Linked DNA regions of Homo sapiens: all the other regions are linked to region 3. The links are contacts of gene promoters, found by promoter capture Hi-C in blood cells and fetal thymus (Javierre and others, 2016). All regions are on one chromosome and are shown on one strand. Each heading gives the region's core, a stretch centred on a gene start or on the middle of the fragment in contact. The rest is flanking DNA. Distances are from core to core; before and after follow the strand shown. Region 1 overlaps CLEC16A (C-type lectin domain containing 16A). Region 2 overlaps CLEC16A (C-type lectin domain containing 16A). Region 3 holds the start of SOCS1 (suppressor of cytokine signaling 1). Region 4 overlaps CLEC16A (C-type lectin domain containing 16A).

Region 1 (2,700 bases), core at 200-2,699, 170 kb after region 3:
ATCTGTCCACCTGCCTCCCAAAGTGCTGGATAAATTACAGGCGTGAGCCACTGTGCTTGGCCTAAGTGTGTTTTTAAGGAGCTTGTTTTCTGTCGATAATGGAGGGCTTCTGCACACTGAGTCCAAGCAGACCCTACAGTGAGAGAGGGCAGCCGACGGGGAAGCCTTCTGAGGAAGCAAACCCATGGCAGTCCCAGGGTGTCAGAACACCCCTGCTGAGTACCTGTTACTTAAGCACACCTTTCCTGCAAAGAAAAGTGGGGTAACTTACGAGGGGGAGCTCAGGCATCAAGTTCAGCTACCCGTGGGTTACCAGAAAGCCTAGCAGATCATCTGCAGCCTGAGTCATGGAACTTGAGCTTACACCTATCAGAGGCCTGCTGTGTTTCAGGCATCGTGCTCAAAGCTTTCCTGACAATTTTCCTCATTTTTCAGATGAAGGAAACCTGAGGCTCAGGTTAAGCCATGTGCTGAGGTCACCTGGTTGGCAAGCAGCAGAGGTAGCTTGAATGCTGGCGGTCAGACTCTGCGGAGTACCCATTTACCCACTAACTCTACCCATCTCCGAGCCAGCGCCCTTCCCTGTGCAGTGCCAGCCCCTCAGGACAGCCCTGCAGAGGTGGGGGAGGCCTGAGACTCAGTAGGTGCAGAAGGCTGCCAGGGCACACAGCCCCACCCGCCCTACGAGGTGAATCACAGCCTTCAGAGCATGCTCTTGCCTCTACCTGCTGCCTCTCAGGCGCCACTGGGGCCAGACCCGGGGGCATCCACCACAAAGTAAGGCTTCTTCATCAAGTGGCCGATACTGAATAGGCCTGTGAGCTTTTACTGAAAGCCACACACAACTTCCCTTTTACCCTTTGAAATAAGTGATATCATTTTCAACACCAGTTATCCATCTCCTGTGTCTTTTAATAGAAGCAGCTCATGGTGTGAGTTGGGGGAGATATAAACACAGGAGGGAAAACTGCTTACCTCACGTCTTTATGGAGAAAGGAGATTAGGCGCTTTAAAGGCAAAATCCTGGCTAGGCTTGGTGGCTCACGCCTGTAATCCCAACACCTTGGGAGGCCAAGGTGGGCGGGGTGCTTGAGCCCAGAAGTTTAAGACTAGCCTGGGCAACGTAGTGAGACCTCATCTCAAAAAATTAAAATAGGCTGGGCACCGTGGCTCATGCCTGTAATCCCAGCACTTTGGGAGGCTGAGGTGGGTGGATTACTTGAGGTCAGGAGTTCAAGACGAGCCTGGCCAACAAGGCAAGAAACCCTCTCTCTACTAAAAATACCAAAAAAAAAAAAAAAAAAAAAAAAAAATTAGCTGGGTATGGTAGCGCATGCCTGTAATCCCAGCTACTTGGGAGGCTGAGGCAGGAGAATCACTTGAACCAGGGAGGGAGAGGTTGCAGTGAGCCAAGATCACACCACTGCACTCCAGCCTGAACAACAGAGCGAGACTCTCTCTCAAAAACTAACTAAATAAAATAAAATAGAAACAAAAATCCAGAGAGCCTCCTAAAACACTGGACTGTAGATTCTCTGGACCTCCAGGCAGGATGTTAGGTAAGCGGGGAGTTGCGGAGAAATGTAATAGGAAAGTGGTCCACTGTGAAGGCTTCACACACAGGCTCCCCGGCAATGCTGCAGACAGCCATCAACATCACTCCGCTGCCTGAGGACATCTGGTATGGAAGAACTCCAGCTGGGTTGTCCATGGTCCCTTTCCTGACAATGGCCCCTAAGAATCATTCCATGAATCCACAAACACAGGAAAGTAACAGCCCATTCTTAAGCTCTTCTTCAACCCAAGAATTTCAAAGTGAAATTCTGACCACACTTGAGGTCCAGAGTTCGAGACCAGACTGGGCAACATAGCGAGTCCCTGTTTCTATTTTTTAAAAAAGTGAATGTCTGACAGCTCACTCCCATGACTGACGCAGCCTGGTCGTATGAGGCAGGTCCCCCTTCTGCGGTTCTTCCAGGGAACCAGAATGCAGGGGACGCATGATTCTACGCAATGGAGTGTTTGGTGGAGAACTAAATAAGCAAGCGTATTTCTGGGACTATTTTAAAATAAACAACGACCAAGCAGAGTTAGGAATGTCTAAACAGATATTCTGAGTGTAAAGGATGGTGGAGGTTTGAGAGAACACAGCTGTGTGGCCTCCAAACACACATGAAGGAGGCAGGAATTCCAACCGCTGGAAGCCTTTTCTGGCACCTCATTGATGAGCAAAGGCAGGGATGGAAAAAACGGAGCAGAGCACAGGGTTGACTGGTTTGGACCGGTGCCTGGCGGTGGCTGGGTGGGCCAGCCCATGCTGCGAGTCATGCCCAGCACCCCTCAGTAGGCTGCCCTATCATTCTTACAGATGCCATTTCCTGAGTCGGGCCCTTCCCTGGCCACCTGGGATATATGGGAAGAATTCCCATAGCCACTTCTGACCAGGTGACCAGGCGACCAGGTGGACATGCTCAGCAGATGGGTAAGCTTCTGCTCGTCATGCTGGCACAGATGACAAAGACCAACAGGGGCCAGTGTGGGACAGAGGGGAGGAACAGGCATTTCCCTGCGCTGTTGGCAGGAGGTTTGATGGGCAGCTTCTTTTATGGAGGGCAATTTGAGCAATTTCACAGCTAGGACTGCCTCCTGACAAAGTGCTGTGTTTGTGAACTGAGTTGCTAAAAGGCTGACCCCTCAGCG
Region 2 (2,700 bases), core at 172-2,671, 240 kb after region 3:
ATTTCCACACCCTGGCTGTGACACCTGTGCGCACAGCTGCACCTCACAGTCCTCATCCAGCTAGCACAGCTGTAGAGTGAGTGGCTCCACTTAATTTTCTAGATGAATGCGGATCAGATCTTCAAATGTCAAGGAAAGGTTTCTTGCTCTTCTTTTTGATAGTTTTATCCAAACAACCCTTATAGGTACTGAAACAACCCTTATAGGTCTGCCAATTCCCTGAAGCTCTATGCAAAGTGCTATGTGGGCATGGGACCAGTTGGTAGCAGGTTTTTGGGGGAAAGGGCTCCCCAGATTCTCACTGCTCTAAAGTGAGTATCATCTTTAGAAGAGGACATCAAAGAGGACTTGACCTCCCCTGATGATCAGGGTCACAGGGAACCTCCTCATAGTGCTACACCTGAAGTTGGCACGGTTCTGTGCCACTCCGGGCCCCAACTCCAATTGTCCCTGTTGTCACTGGCCAGCCTCCCTCCCAAGGTGCGGGCGCCACACTGCTGCCACCAAGGAAAGCAGCTCAGTAGGCTATGTGGATACAGAGTTCCACCTATGGTCCCCAAGGCCGGGACTGAGGCACTGAGGCTGGATTTCCAGGGGGCTCTGACTGAACCTCAGTTATGATACTATTTGGAGTTTGAAGGGACTGAAGCAATAGTTTAATTTGCTTGCTTTTATGATTTCTGTCACGTCTCTGTGTTACCTGTACTATTTTTCATTTTATTTGAACTATTACTTTTTTTTCACTTAAATACAGCTTAAAAGGAAAGTTTAAATCACCGTTATACTCTACAACCTAGCAGCCCACTTGTAGGTCTTTCTCCGCAAGACACACCTCTGGAAGTATGCAACTGCACATGCACAAGGATATTTACTGTAGTATTCTTTGTAATTGCAAAATACTGGAAACTACCTAAATGCCCAGGCATAACAGACCGATGGAATCAACTATGGTACATACACACAGCACAGCTGTGAAAAGGAATGAAGAAGATCTGAGAAATGATATGGAGTAATTTCCGGAGACATTGCTAAGTGGAAGGAACACATATGCTACCCTGTATGTAAGAAAGGAAAAGAAGAAAACATACACAAATCTGCTTATTTTTACAGAAAGAAACACAGGAAGGAGACTTCTTCAGTACACAATCAAGTTGGTTATCTATAAGAGATGACAGGAATTAAGTGGAAGGGAGGAAGGATACTTCAGTTTGCTAATATTCCATGCATTTTTAAAATGAAAATTAAATCAATGAGAATGAGAAAGAAGAAGCCTAAACTGGAAATTTTAAAAAAGAATCCAAATTTCTTCTTCTTCTTCTTCTTCTTTTTTTTGAGACAGAGTCTCACTCTGTTGCCCAGGCTGGAGTGCAGTGGCATGATCTCAGCTCACTACAACTTCTGCCTCCCAAGTTCAAGCAATTCTCCTGCCTCAGCCTCCCGAGTAGCTAGGATTACAGGTGTACGCCACCATGCCCGGCTCATTTTTGTATTTTTATTTATTTATTTATTTTTGAGACAGAGTCTCACTCCATCGCCTAGGCTGGAGTGCGGTGGCGTGATCTTGGCTCACTGCAACCTCTGCCTCCCAGTCTAACGGGATTCTCCAGCCTCAGCCTCCCCGAATAGCTGGGACTATAGGTACACATCACCATGCCTGGCTAATTTTTTTGTATTTTCAGGGCTCCACCATGTTGGTCAGGTTGGTCTCGAACTCCTGACCTCAAATGATCTGCCTGCCTTGGCCTCCCAAAGTTCTGGGATTACAGGTGTGAGCCAGCACACCTGGCCTCATTTTTGTATTTTTAGCAGAGATGGGGTTTCACCATGTTGGCCAGGCTGGTCTCAAACTCCTGATTTCAAATGATCCGCCCATCTCAGCCTCCCAAAGTGGTGGGATTACAGGTGTGAGCCACCATGCCTAGCCTGAATCCAAATTTATTTTAAATGAATACCAAATCCACTCTGAATGGGGAAAGGAAGGATGCTCAGATTAATCCAAGTAGCTTATAAACACAATACAGCAGATCTTTGAATAACATCATTTCATTCAACATTGTTGCATTATAACATGGATGAGGATAAAAAGAAAAAAACTGATTCCCAGTCCCGGCCACCGTCTATGTGGAGTCTGCATGTTCTCGCCATGTCTGCATGGGTTTTTGCCACATATTCTGGTTTCCTCCCTCATCCCAGAGATGTACATGTTAAGTTCCCTGGCATGTCCACACAGGCGCAGTCTGAGTGAGTGTGGGGGCGTGTGAGTTTGTCCTGTGACAGGATGGTGCCCTGTCCAGAGTTGGCTCCCACCTGGCGTCCTGAAGTACCCAGGCACTGGTCATACAAGATCCTAAACTGGAAATATGCGAGTTGGAAAATAAATGAATACAAATGATTGTCAAATAACAATTCATAAAGTAGACGATAATACAAATGCATGACAATAAATGATGTGGTATGAAAGCATTCAACAAGCCTACCAGATTTGTGATTGGTTTTGAACCTCGTGCAGGAAGGAGGTGCTCCTTATGATTTTTCACTTTGCAAACATTTATTCCTTGATTTAACCCACCACCACCATGACTGCTGTTCATTCATTAATTCACCAAAAATCGGGTAAGTAATTATCTTACATGTTTTCATAAATCTTTCTTTTTTTTTTTTTTTTTTTTTTTTTTTGAGACGGAGTCTCACTCTATCGCC
Region 3 (2,700 bases), core at 29-2,528:
GAGAAGCCGTCTGAGAGCTGTCTGTAGAGGGCAGTGTGTCCCAGTGTGAGGCCAGTAACCAAGTGCCCAGCCTAGCCAGGTTTTTATGTGGCCCCTTGTGATGCTGGGGCTCCTCACATGCCTTCATTCAAAAATACACGGAGCAGCCAGGCACCTACTCCATGGCCTCGCACGACAATCGGAATCACTAAATCACAAACACGTGTGCAAATTACAGCCCCGACCACCGACCGCCCACCATCCCAAGCCCCGGCCGTGTGTGTGGTGGGAAGGCAGTCTTTGAAGGGCAGATGCCTGACGGAGCAGTAGGAGGGGGAAATCTATGAGGAAGGGGTCGGGGGAGAGGAGGGCTAGGAAACCAGGTTTGGGGATTCATCACGTCTGAGAATGCACCATTTTTTCACTGGGCTCCAATTTGATGTCGTCCAGCTGCACCTCTCCCCAAAATGAAGACGGGGAAGGCGAGATCCAGGTCCAGAGCTCCCAATCTGCAAGCCATTGCAAATCCCAGCCCCTCCCCAGCCTCAGTTTCTTCCGCAGCCGGGTAGTGGGAGCGCAGGGAGGGCAGTCGAGGCCACCAGGGACCTTGCCCGGCCCCGCCCAGTTTCCGAGGAACTGGGCCGGGGTGGAGGCGCCCGCGCCGCCAGGGGTTCCTCTGAAGCCTGTGGTCAGGCCGCCGCTTCCCGGGAAGCCCGAGCCAAGACCAGAGACCGCGGCCGGCCGGGGCTTCGGGACAGCAGGGCGGGCGACTGAGGGCGTCGACGGCGGGTGGAGCAGGGGCTAGGAGGGGGTCTACGGGTGGGGTCAGGCTCAGGGTTGGGGACACCTTCTGTGGCCTCCTAGGGGGATCTGGCTGCAGGGGAGGAGAGGACAGGGCTCTGCCCCCGGCGGGTGTGGAGACAGCTGGGGCGGAGGAGGGTGTGTCAGGGCGCGTCCCAAGAGGGCCTGGCGGCAGAAAGTGGAACCCGAGGTAGCGGGGCAAAATCGGGGTCGCCAAGTCCGAAGGAGGGGTCCGAGAAGTGGCCGGAAGGCGCAGGGTCGGGGCCAGAGCCCCTCGAGAGGCGGGTGCTGGGGCAGGTGCGAACAGGCGGGCAGAGGGCCCCGCGGGAGGGTCCAGAAGAGAGGGAAACAGGGCCGAAGCGGTCCTCGCCGGACGCCACCGCGGAAAGAGAAACCAAAAGTGGAGCTGGGGGCGGGGCCGGCAGGGGGCGGGGCCTCCCGCCGTCGCCAGCCCCGCCTCCGAGCCGGTTTAAAAGACTGGCGCAGGGGCGGGCGCCGAACAGAGCGAGCTGCGGCCGTGGCAGCTGCACGGCTCCTGGCCCCGGAGCATGCGCGAGAGCCGCCCCGGAGCGCCCCGGAGCCCCCCGCCGTCCCGCCCGCGGCGTCCCGCGCCCCGCCGCCAGGTGAGCCGGGCCCTGGGCGAGGAGGCGGGAGGGAGGAGGGAGGGGAGTCCAGGGCAGCCAGGAGTCGGGCGAGCCTCGGGGGCTGCAGAATGGGGTCGCGGCCGCGATGCCCCTGACCCTCGCCGGCCCCACCCAGGCCGCCCCCCGCGCGCGGGGCTCCCGCAGCACAGCCTTTCTCCGGCCCTAGCCCAAATCGCCCAGACCAGGCGCGGATCCCAGCCTGGCCAGCAGGCGGCGGGCGCGGGGCGGCGAGCCGGGGCCGGACGGCTGGAGCCAGAACCGGCTGCTCTCCACGCCCCCCTCTCGGTGCTGCCCGGAGGCCGGACTCCGCCTCCACCGAGCCCCCACCCGCCGGGAAGAGCTCCGCGGAGTACAGAGCCCATTTTCTAGCTGTGTCCACTGAGGCTGAACGGATCCGCGCGGACTTGGTGCTCCGTGCTCGCCCCCTAGGGCCGGGTCCGCCGGGAGCGCCGCCCTCCGGAGTTGTCCGGCCGGCGCACACCTGCCCGGCCCCGCAGCGCCCCAGCTCACCTCTTTGTCTCTCCCGCAGCGCACCCCCGGACGCTATGGCCCACCCCTCCGGCTGGCCCCTTCTGTAGGATGGTAGCACACAACCAGGTGGCAGCCGACAATGCAGTCTCCACAGCAGCAGAGCCCCGACGGCGGCCAGAACCTTCCTCCTCTTCCTCCTCCTCGCCCGCGGCCCCCGCGCGCCCGCGGCCGTGCCCCGCGGTCCCGGCCCCGGCCCCCGGCGACACGCACTTCCGCACATTCCGTTCGCACGCCGATTACCGGCGCATCACGCGCGCCAGCGCGCTCCTGGACGCCTGCGGATTCTACTGGGGGCCCCTGAGCGTGCACGGGGCGCACGAGCGGCTGCGCGCCGAGCCCGTGGGCACCTTCCTGGTGCGCGACAGCCGCCAGCGGAACTGCTTTTTCGCCCTTAGCGTGAAGATGGCCTCGGGACCCACGAGCATCCGCGTGCACTTTCAGGCCGGCCGCTTTCACCTGGATGGCAGCCGCGAGAGCTTCGACTGCCTCTTCGAGCTGCTGGAGCACTACGTGGCGGCGCCGCGCCGCATGCTGGGGGCCCCGCTGCGCCAGCGCCGCGTGCGGCCGCTGCAGGAGCTGTGCCGCCAGCGCATCGTGGCCACCGTGGGCCGCGAGAACCTGGCTCGCATCCCCCTCAACCCCGTCCTCCGCGACTACCTGAGCTCCTTCCCCTTCCAGATTTGACCGGCAGCGCCCGCCGTGCACGCAGCATTAACTGGGATGCCGTGTTATTTTGTTATTACTT
Region 4 (2,700 bases), core at 75-2,574, 220 kb after region 3:
GGCAGAGGGAGAGGTTGGGATGGGCCCGGATTCTCAGAAGGCTCAGGCCTAGCACCCAGGGCTCAGGCTCCCAGTGGGGTCTGCTTCCTACAACTGCGTGGCCCTGTGGACAGACAACACCCCAAGTGGGCACCTGGCTGGGCAGCGTTGTTCATGATCCTGATGAGTCTTTCAGCTAGCGGGTGGTTGTAGGTGGTCTTCTCGGCCGCATTTGGCACGGGGAGCTGGATTCGCTCTAATTTTTCAGGATCCATGCCTGGAACAGAGGAGAAGGATGTAAGTGGAGGCCTCCTGACTACCTGACCTCCTCATACCGAAAGGTCCTGTAGAGTGGGGTTTCCTCAACTTCAGCCACATATGTTCCCTCTTGGTGATTTCTTTTCCTTTTTCTTTTCTTTTTTTTAGTTTTTAATAGAGACAGGATTTTGTCATGTTTCCCAGGCTGGACTTGAACTCCTGGGCTTCCCCAAGTGCTGGGCCTCCCAAATTGCTGGGATTACTGTTGTGAGCCACTGCGCCTGTCCCCTCTTGGCAACTGCTGTCATGACTGGTTGCTGTTGGTGCCATAACTTATCGCAGAGCTCTCCATAAACTGAACTTACATAAATGTATTAAAACATACATTTTCTATTTCTTATAAATAGGAAATCAGGATTGATGCAATAATTGCCAGTAATAATATTTTAAAAATCAAAAAATGTTTTTGCATGCTAGCCAATGACTTTTGACTGCCTACTCATGGTGGCCCAAGACCTGATCTTTGTTAAAAAGGGAGGTTGGCAGGTACTTAATAGTGTTGGAGAGAAGCTAGCCCCAAATGGTGGCATTCTCCTAGACACAGGGAAGGGAGTAGAAAAAGGGGACACCATCCCATAGCACAACTCACTGCCACTGTGTGCCAGGTCTGAGGGCCACCTGAGGCCACTCCCGTATTACGCACCTTCTACGCTTGAGGAAATCCAGGCCTAGAGAAAGAGAGACTAGACACGAAGGAAATACAGTCATCCCCAACAATTGTGCCCTCAAGCTTTTAATGACAAACTCAAAAGCTGAGCCCCACCCTCAACACATGTAGGAGGAATCAAGTTGTGAGCCAGGTGAGGCAGAGGCCACGCCTGCCCCTGAGGGTGACATTAGCAGAAAGACACTAAGCTAAGCCTTTCTTACAGAAAGGTGCACATATTAGGTTGGCACAAAAGTAATTGCAGTTTTTGCCATTAAAAGCAATTGGAACACCGCAATTACTTTTGTGCCAACCTAATACAATGACACCAATACAGCAGAGATCTATCATTAAGAGGCAAGGGAATCATTTTTCCTCCAGTGAAAATTCAACAATTCTTCCTGCCAAAACTAACAGCATTTGAAAGATAAAATATTAGATGGGGGTGGGGAAGGTAAGTGGGAAAGGAAAGAAGAACAGGCAAGTGTGTGACTTTGAGCCCTGTTGTCATTTCTCCTAAAGAAGCACACAGGACCTGCAGTGACAGAAGACCTGTTAGGGCTACTAGAACAGTTCCTGCCTGGAGTAAGAGGTCTTCAAACTCCTTATCTGCTCAACTGACGTGGCTCTTCAAAAATACACTTACAGAAACAAATATTTTGCTTGATCCAAGCTTGGAGAACTGAATGGATTATTTGCGCTTGTACCACGTCTTTTCCTGTTACTCTACAAAAGGGGGAAAGGTGGCACTTCTCGGAACTCTTAAAATACGGTCCCTTGAGTACCAGATGACGCTTCATTTAGAACCTTGACAAAATAGTGGAAGATAGCATTGAAGAGATGATTGTCTGGATTCTAAGTAACTCCTGCACATGCACATTGATGTAATAAGAAGTAACAATATATCTTGCTTTTCTGAATTCCTTCCAGCTCCCAGAAAGAGGCTAAGTCATACCAAGGAGATGACCTGGGTGAGGGACGGCCTAAAGACTTGAGTAGGGTAGTAGTCTCTCTCATGCCCCAAAACGCCCCACAAATGTGGGTTTCCTCAAAAAATTTCATTGCAGTGAAAATTTAATTTGTGGCTTCTGTATCCCATGTTAATGCTAAATGTGTAACTCTGAAGGATTCTGGCTTATTGAATGGCAAGAAGAATGTCAACTGAATCTTTCTGGCATTTGTTTTTTCCAGAGATGTTAACACTGTCCTAACATCTCTCTACTCGTTAATTTCTGGCCCTTTGAGAACTGCCAGTCAGTGGTTCTGGGGGTGGGGGTGGGGGTGGGGGTGGGGAATAAAAGCTCCTCTGTGTCCCAGGTGCATTGCCCAACTTTATAACCCATCAGCAGTCACTCCGCTTCAGAGAGGATAGCAGAAAGGGCCTGGCTGCTCGCTCCTTCTAGAATGGGGCAGTGGCCACAGAACCATGGAAAGAGGCAAACTAGGACCAGGCCTTGAATTTCCAGAGAGAGGTCCATTTTGTTTCTTTCCTATCATTGCCCCTCCGTCTCCTTAGAATTTGTGGACAGTGAGGAAATCTGGGGCAAGCTCTTTTCTTGACAGGAAGAAAAGCGTCCCAAGATGATCTCGACTTTTCTCAACTCTCCGTGAAGGGAAGGTCCCAGAGGATAGAAACACTTCTCTCTGTACCAGGTTCCAAGTCCAGCCTTTTCCTTTCATGAGGAAGTTAAGGCCCAGAGTTGTTATGTTGTTTCCCCAAGGTCACAGAGCAAGTCAGAGACACAGCTCAAACCACT

Evidence for each region. The method cuts DNA at HindIII sites, captures the fragments that hold promoters and counts their contacts. A CHiCAGO score of 5 or more calls a contact.
Region 1: a contact is called between a fragment that was not itself captured here and the fragment with the promoter of SOCS1 in region 3, in 1 of 17 cell types (fetal thymus). The highest score is 5.6, in fetal thymus.
Region 2: a fragment that was not itself captured here is called in contact with the fragment with the promoter of SOCS1 in region 3 in 1 of 17 cell types (activated CD4 T cells); the score reaches 5.2 in activated CD4 T cells.
Region 4: a fragment that was not itself captured here is called in contact with the fragment with the promoter of SOCS1 in region 3 in 1 of 17 cell types (non-activated CD4 T cells); the score reaches 5.2 in non-activated CD4 T cells.

The regions. Positions count from the first base shown.
Region 1 is chr16:11,089,425-11,092,124 of GRCh38, reverse strand. The region is part of intron 19 of CLEC16A (C-type lectin domain containing 16A); the gene reads right to left. Among named protein-coding and RNA genes, the nearest start is that of CLEC16A, 150 kb to the right of the region's middle. RefSeq lists an enhancer at 624-713. The HindIII fragment of the contact is 2,081 bases long and covers 409-2,489 here.
Region 2 is chr16:11,012,571-11,015,270 of GRCh38, reverse strand. The region is part of intron 11 of CLEC16A (C-type lectin domain containing 16A); the gene reads right to left. Among named protein-coding and RNA genes, the nearest start is that of CLEC16A, 69 kb to the right of the region's middle. The HindIII fragment of the contact is 3,806 bases long and covers 1-2,700 here.
Region 3 is chr16:11,254,782-11,257,481 of GRCh38, reverse strand. It overlaps SOCS1 (suppressor of cytokine signaling 1), which reads left to right and starts at 1,278. Exons shown (of 2, transcript NM_003745.2): 1 at 1,278-1,403; 2 at 1,954-2,700. The coding sequence starts at 2,004. The coding sequence ends at 2,639. All of the region lies in intron 1 of LOC105371082 (a long non-coding RNA gene), which reads right to left. RefSeq lists silencers at 633-832, 1,083-1,822, 1,923-1,972, 1,983-2,132, 2,543-2,632. The HindIII fragment of the contact is 18,048 bases long and covers 1-2,700 here.
Region 4 is chr16:11,037,310-11,040,009 of GRCh38, reverse strand. It overlaps CLEC16A (C-type lectin domain containing 16A), which reads right to left. Exons shown (of 24, transcript NM_015226.3): 14 at 134-256. Among named protein-coding and RNA genes, the nearest start is that of CLEC16A, 94 kb to the right of the region's middle. The HindIII fragment of the contact is 589 bases long and covers 1,030-1,618 here.